2 separate regions of the Homo sapiens genome follow, and region 2 is linked to region 1. The links are contacts of gene promoters, found by promoter capture Hi-C in human tissues and cell types (Jung and others, 2019). All regions are on one chromosome and are shown on one strand. The core of a region is centred on a gene start or on the middle of the fragment in contact, and the rest is flanking DNA. Distances in the headings are between cores, read along the strand shown. Region 1 holds the start of CPNE8 (copine 8). Region 2 has its middle 130 kb from the start of LINC02406.

The links. Contacts are between HindIII fragments. The study calls those that stand out against the background at their distance.
Region 2: a contact is called between a fragment that was not itself captured here and the fragment with the promoter of CPNE8 in region 1, in 1 of the 25 tissues and cell types used here (dorsolateral prefrontal cortex).

Annotation. Positions count from the first base shown.
Region 1 is chr12:38,904,152-38,907,183 of GRCh38, reverse strand. CPNE8 (copine 8) reads left to right here and starts at 1,593. Exons shown (of 20, transcript NM_153634.3): 1 at 1,593-1,747. The coding sequence starts at 1,650. CPNE8-AS1 (CPNE8 antisense RNA 1) reads right to left here and starts at 1,472. Exons shown (of 2, transcript XR_007063275.1): 1 at 187-1,472. RefSeq lists an enhancer at 49-308 and a silencer at 1,439-1,608. The HindIII fragment of the contact is 9,063 bases long and covers 1-3,032 here.
Region 2 is chr12:39,272,999-39,276,030 of GRCh38, reverse strand. No RefSeq gene overlaps it. Among named protein-coding and RNA genes, the nearest start is that of LINC02406, 130 kb to the right of the region's middle. The HindIII fragment of the contact is 5,121 bases long and covers 1-3,032 here.

The DNA.
Region 1 (3,032 bases), core at 344-2,843:
AATGCCTGGGGTTTTAGGGCATTTCCAAATCGCAGTAAACTACAGTTTAATTTGTAATAGGACAAGAGGAAGGAAAAAAAAAGAAGAAAAAGCGGTGGGTGGGGAAATCAGGAAAGGAAAGCAAGAAGAAACAGGGGAAGTACACTCGGCAGGGGAATCGGCAAGACTGCACCTACACACTCTCACCCGCCTCTATAGATTCTCTAGGCAGGAGGCTGCAAGTGGATTAAAATGTTACAACGCAAGGCAAGTCCTCCACCGCAAAAACTGCTCCTCCCAGACTTAGCCCAACCAGCTGGAAACTCCGTGCTTGGAGCGTTAAATCGGACGGACACCCGCCCCCTCTCCACCCTCTGCCTTCCAGCTGCGCCGCATCCTGTTCTCCGTCGCCGCCTGGTGGCGAGCTCCCGGGACCCGCAGGCGCTCGGGTGAGGCAGGAGGGAAGGCGCGGGGAACAAAGGTCCCTGCAGTGGAGGGGCGCCTCGTCTACCTCCGGATGCTTTTGCCACGACTCCGTCTTGGCACCAGTCTTGCTGCCCTGGAATGCAGTTTCCCAAACGCAGCGCTCACTCTGACTCCTCTCTGCTTTTATCCGTCAGGTCTCAGTTCTTGCGGGTGGGAGTCGGCTGAAGGAGCTGCGTTATATGGTTGTGACATCACCCTCCCCGGCCCCCATTTTCAGGTCAGAACTTTCATGCCTTTGGAAACGAGGGACCCAGAAGAGCCCTTACTGTAGGAGGAATGTCGCCGTTAGACCTCTAAGCTCCGAAGAACCAAGGGGAGACAGAATCCAGATTGCTTCCTTAAATCCCAAGTAGTATTGTTTTTTCCACCTTAGAGTCCGCCCCCCCGCCCCCACTTGTCCCATATATTGATCGGCCACTTTGCCACCGTGTTCCAAGGTTGGAGAGCGTCACAATGCCCCACCGTCCCCAACTCTCAAGTGGCCGACAGTGGGCAGTCCAGAAGCTGGGACCAGACTCATCTGCCCGAGGGCACAGTAGGAGGGACGGAGGGATCTCCCAAGAGCTCCGAGGGCGAGGTGAGAACCAATTGTGGGGAGGGGGACCTTATAACGGGGCAGTTAGGAACGGGCAGAGGTGCCCCCACCTCCAGCTTTCAACTCAGGCGAGGAAACTTCGAGACCTTCCCGTCCACACCTGATTGACAGAAGGAAGCTGTCGCGGCCCAGGAGGCGAGTGTGGGTGTGCAGAGGTGGAGACAAAACCTAAAAGCACGCAGAGCCGGCGAGGGCTTGCGGTCCTGGACGGTAGGGGTCTGCGTCTGGTGCCACCTTCTCCATCAGGCTGCTTGCTGGGTCCACCAAGCCTGACCCCTCCAGCCAGGAGGGGATCACGGAGTGTGTCCCCCGCCCGGGCTGCTGCCTGCCGGAAGGGGGCTGGGAAACCGGGATCCCCGCGCGCCACTTGCCTGGCAGCGTCAGTTTCACCCAGGACTGGCTAGCGGTTCCCTCGTGGCTCTGCGCGGAGGTCCGCCTCCTCCCTTCCCTCCCCCATCCCGCGCGCTGCCTCCGCCTCCTTCTTCTGCCTCCACCCTCAACCCCCATCCCCGCCTGACGGGAGCTAGCCCTCAGTCCGCCCGAGCTGTGGTTGTGGGCGCCGGACAAGTCCAAGGCGCCTCCTCCCAATATGGACAGCCGCTACAACAGCACTGCGGGCATCGGGGACTTGAACCAGCTGAGCGCTGCCATCCCGGCCACGCGGGTGGAGGTGTCCGTGTCCTGCAGGTGAGGACGCAGCCCTTCCCCTCTCTCCTGCCCTCTCATCTGTGGGGTTGGTAGCACTTGGAGAGCGCTCGGGGTACCACGAGGCTTTGCGCAGGCAAGAAGTTGCGCCATGAGTGGGAAATATCTCAGTAGTGGGGCTGGAGTTACCCCGGGTCAGGTGACACAGGGGAGCGGGAATTAGAAGCGGTGGGCTCCGGGACTGAGACTTTGTATTTTCTTTCTGGGAAACGCTGTAAAAGTTGGCTGGGCTGTGACTCAGCTGTGGGAACACCGGCCGCCGCCCACTTTACAAGCCGGTTTTCCGCCCCAAACCCGGGCTGGATGGTTGGGTGATGACCGGAATCGAAGGGGACAGCACTGCCAAAAGCTCTTGTGACCGCTGCACGCTTAGGCCCGGGACTTCCTCTGCTAGGCGTGTGCAAACCTGCTGTTGCTAGGGTTGGCTCCAACCCCGGCAGCTTCCTCCCCACCCACTTCCTGGAGCCTTCCAGCTTGCTTCTCCCCGACCCTTCCGGGCTTTTTGCCTTTTGCCTGATAGGTAGAGATTTCGGCCCTCCTTGCAGACGAATCTATGCCTTACCTAAGATCTGGGAAGTCACGACTTTTGTTTTGATTTGTTTTCGGGCCCACATCTGAGTGCTTGTAAAAACTGACTCTCGGCCGGGCGCAGTGGCTCAGTACAGTTTATACGCCTGTATTCCCAGCACTTTGGGAGGCCAAGGCGGGTGGATCACGAGGTCAGGAGTTCGAGACCAGCCTGGCCAATATGGTGAAACTCCGTCTCTACTAAAAATGCAAAAATTAGCCGGACGTGGTGGCACGCGCCTGTAGTCCCAGCTACTCGGGAGACTGAGACAGGAGAATCGCTTGAACCCGGGATGTGGATGTTGCAATGAGCTGAGATCTTGCCATTGCACTCCAGCCTGGGCGACAGCGCAAGACTCCATCTCAAAAAAAAAAAAAAAACAAAAAAAAACTGACTTTCAACCCTGTCCAGAGACTGTAAATTGCAAACTCGTTGTCCTGACCTTTCGGTTAGTTGCCCTGTAAATAAAGCAGCATCACCGCTATATCATAGATGATTTTGAGAAGGAGATGAGCGATGGTGCTAAATTGGTACTGGCCACTAATTTGCGAATTAATATTGACCCTGGAGCCCACTCCCTTGTTTGCATAATTGGGTCTGTCTCACTGGAAAACTGGCTCCTCATTTATCCATTTTTGCCCTAAGATTGTTTTTATGCCCTCACATCCTCCCTTTCCTTTCCTTAGCAAACTTGCCTTG
Region 2 (3,032 bases), core at 350-2,849, 370 kb before region 1:
GGAAAGCACTGGAATTAGGGGAAATTAGGTCTGACCTGAGCCCTTAGGGCAATTAGTCAATGGATCTGTAGAGGCCTAGAGTCTCAGCTCCGTAGCTGTATGAACAACCCTACTTCACTGGGTAGTTCTGCAGATTGACAGAGGATGTGGTCAAGATGGAACAGCTTTTTTAATATTATTTATTTATTTATTTTTTATTAAAAGGATTGCAATTAATTCAAAGTCAGGCAGTTGGGCATCTTTCTTTCCTTCCTTCCCTATTTTCACTTTTCTTTCTTTGTAAACTGAAATTTAGGTCTAGTTTTACCAAAGAAGAAAGAAATTATTTGACTCACTGCATAGGTTATTTTAGGAAGAGAGAGACCAGAGAACTATTCCAAATGTGGATGAAGGACAGTATCAGCATTTTCTGCCTGCCAATCTATTTAGTTTTCATTTTCCTCCCTCATATTTCTTTATGCAGAGAGAGGACTATGAAACTTTGATTGATACACTTTTCATTTATTGTCATATACTACACTGCTAAAGACTGTCTAAAGGATGAAAACTGAATCTACTTATTTAATAATGATTATACATGCATGAAGTTTCACGTTAATATAGATGCATTATGTTTCCATGGGTTTAAAAACCTGGAAGGGCAATGTTTATTTATTATTAATGTTTTATATTAAATTGAGTGCTCAAAAACTTTTTTTTTGATTCTTAACTATTTCGTATTAGAGAAGTATAGGCTTACATATCAAGTTGATGTACTCATGCAAGTAAAATCATGATTCAAGTAAAGTAAATGCTGACGATTTATTAAGTAATATAATTAAATATACATTATAGTACGGGCGAATCAAGCTCTTACAGAATCCAGGGGAAAGGGGCAGTGGCTACCCCAGGACCTAGCTCCTTCAATGTGAGCTGATTTCTCCCAGCTGTGGGTGGGGCTATTGTGACCTGTCAGATGAAGCTACTCATTTCACCTTCTGCCTGAGGAAGGGCTCTTGGGTGCTAAGTTTTTAATCATGTCTGCTCAATCATATGAGTTTACACTTTTTTTCCCATCAGTTTGGCAATGGAGAAATGTAAACTGAGTCAAATATGCACTTGCGTATGTGTTGGGCATTTTTATTCATTCCTTCACTCATTCATTCAACAGTAATTTTTTCTAGATACAAAAATCATTCAGGCATAATTCTCTCACCCTTATGGCCATTCTAATTATCAGAGGGAGGTGGACTAGCGAGTACAGTCAAGTGTTATAAGTACTATGGTCAGTTCTACATGGGAAGAAGAAAGAGGTTAGGAAAGTGCTTTAAAAAGAGGGAAATTGCGAGTCTGGAAAAATAAATGTCCTGCAGAAATGGGTAGAAATGGGTAGACATGGGGAAAAAGCAGTCTAAGCAGGGCTTTAGGCAAAGGTTAAGAGGCTTGAAATGGTATGGCATATTTGGGGGAACTATAAGTTTTTGGTCATGGCCGAAGCATAGACTTAAAAAACGTTTTTTGATTGATATATTAGTTGTAGGTATTGAAACATAGCTTTTGTATGTCATGCTAAGGAATATGAATTTTATCTTATGTTTAATGAAGAGCCACTGAAAGCTTTTATTTAGGGAAATAATAGGATCTATCTGGTGTCTAAAAATATGATTCTGAAAGTGGTGTTGAGGATGGATGGGAAGACAATCTCCTGTGTGCCATAATATATTATGCCCATTGCAATAGCTCATGGATGATGCTGGTGTATGAATGAAAGTGGTGGCAATTGGGAAAGAGAAAAGAATTAATTTGTATAAAGTCAGTTATGAAGGAAATATTGTTCTAAGAAGATTAGGGTTTACTTAGAGACTTCATTCATTCATGAAAACAATTTGGTTCCCCATTCTCTGAAATAACAATTCAGTAATTATGAATCTGTATCAAACAATAATATAACACAATAGCAGTAAGAACAAAATGGCAAACTTTTCAGATGATCTTGATGAGCATCCAGGATTAGCATCCATGGTTTAGAAAATAAACTCTTGGAGTTCCAAAGAGTAAACAGGAGTCATTGGGGAAGGCTTTTTTTTATGACAGCAGCTCCTACACTGTTTTCTCTGTCTTACACTGGCAGGGGAAAATAAAAGGCCCTGAGGCTCACTCACCTCATTCATTCCATTTTTTCAACAGAAAAAAAAAAACCTAGGCTTTTTTTTCCCTAAATTTGGGGAAATCCTCCTCCACCCACAAAAAAAAAAAAAAAAAAAAAACTGGGGAAGAATTAAGAGGTGATTTGCAAATTTGCCAAGTATGCACAGAAGCCAGATTTTTCAGTAGCTGCATGAACTAAAGCTCTCCTAAATTTAGACAACGTTATGCTACATGAAGACAACCTTTTGATTTGTCCTGAAGTGGTCACTGGTGTTTTGGTAATGCACATCCACTGAGGAAATTTCGTATTCCAGTGTCACTGGGAGACCATCTGATGATGCGTTGTAGATGCCTGAAGCAACTTGAGCTACGAATTGAGAAATTAAGGAGGGGAAAAGAGAGTAGGATAATAACATGGTCACTGGGACGTCATGACCTTTCAATGTGCAGATTACTAACAAGTTAGTTTTTTCTGTATAGATTTTGATCTTTCTGGGAACAGTCCCAGAACAGTTTTTAGTATTTCCACCAGGGGGCAGTGATGTCCTCTACAACGTTGGTGACTGCAGCTAGACAAATTAATCATTCTTTTTTTTTTTTTGGACTTGGAGTGGGTTTGAGTGGGAAGCACTGATTAATTCTAACTGCCTATGGATATTAGGGTGGATTTGGAGTCAAATTCAAGCGGAAGACAGAATCGTTAAATAGCATCTGAAGAAGTGCAGAGCCTTAAACCAGAGTGACTACTTAATTAAATCAGTTGCTACAGTTGGTTAAATTGAATAGCTATCTTCAGACTCTGAAAACTCATAATTCTTGAAGCTCCTGTCCAGCAGCCTTAGGAGGTTCAAGGAATTTGATTTGCCAAGAATTATGTGCCCCATGAAACCACAGGAGCAAATTCT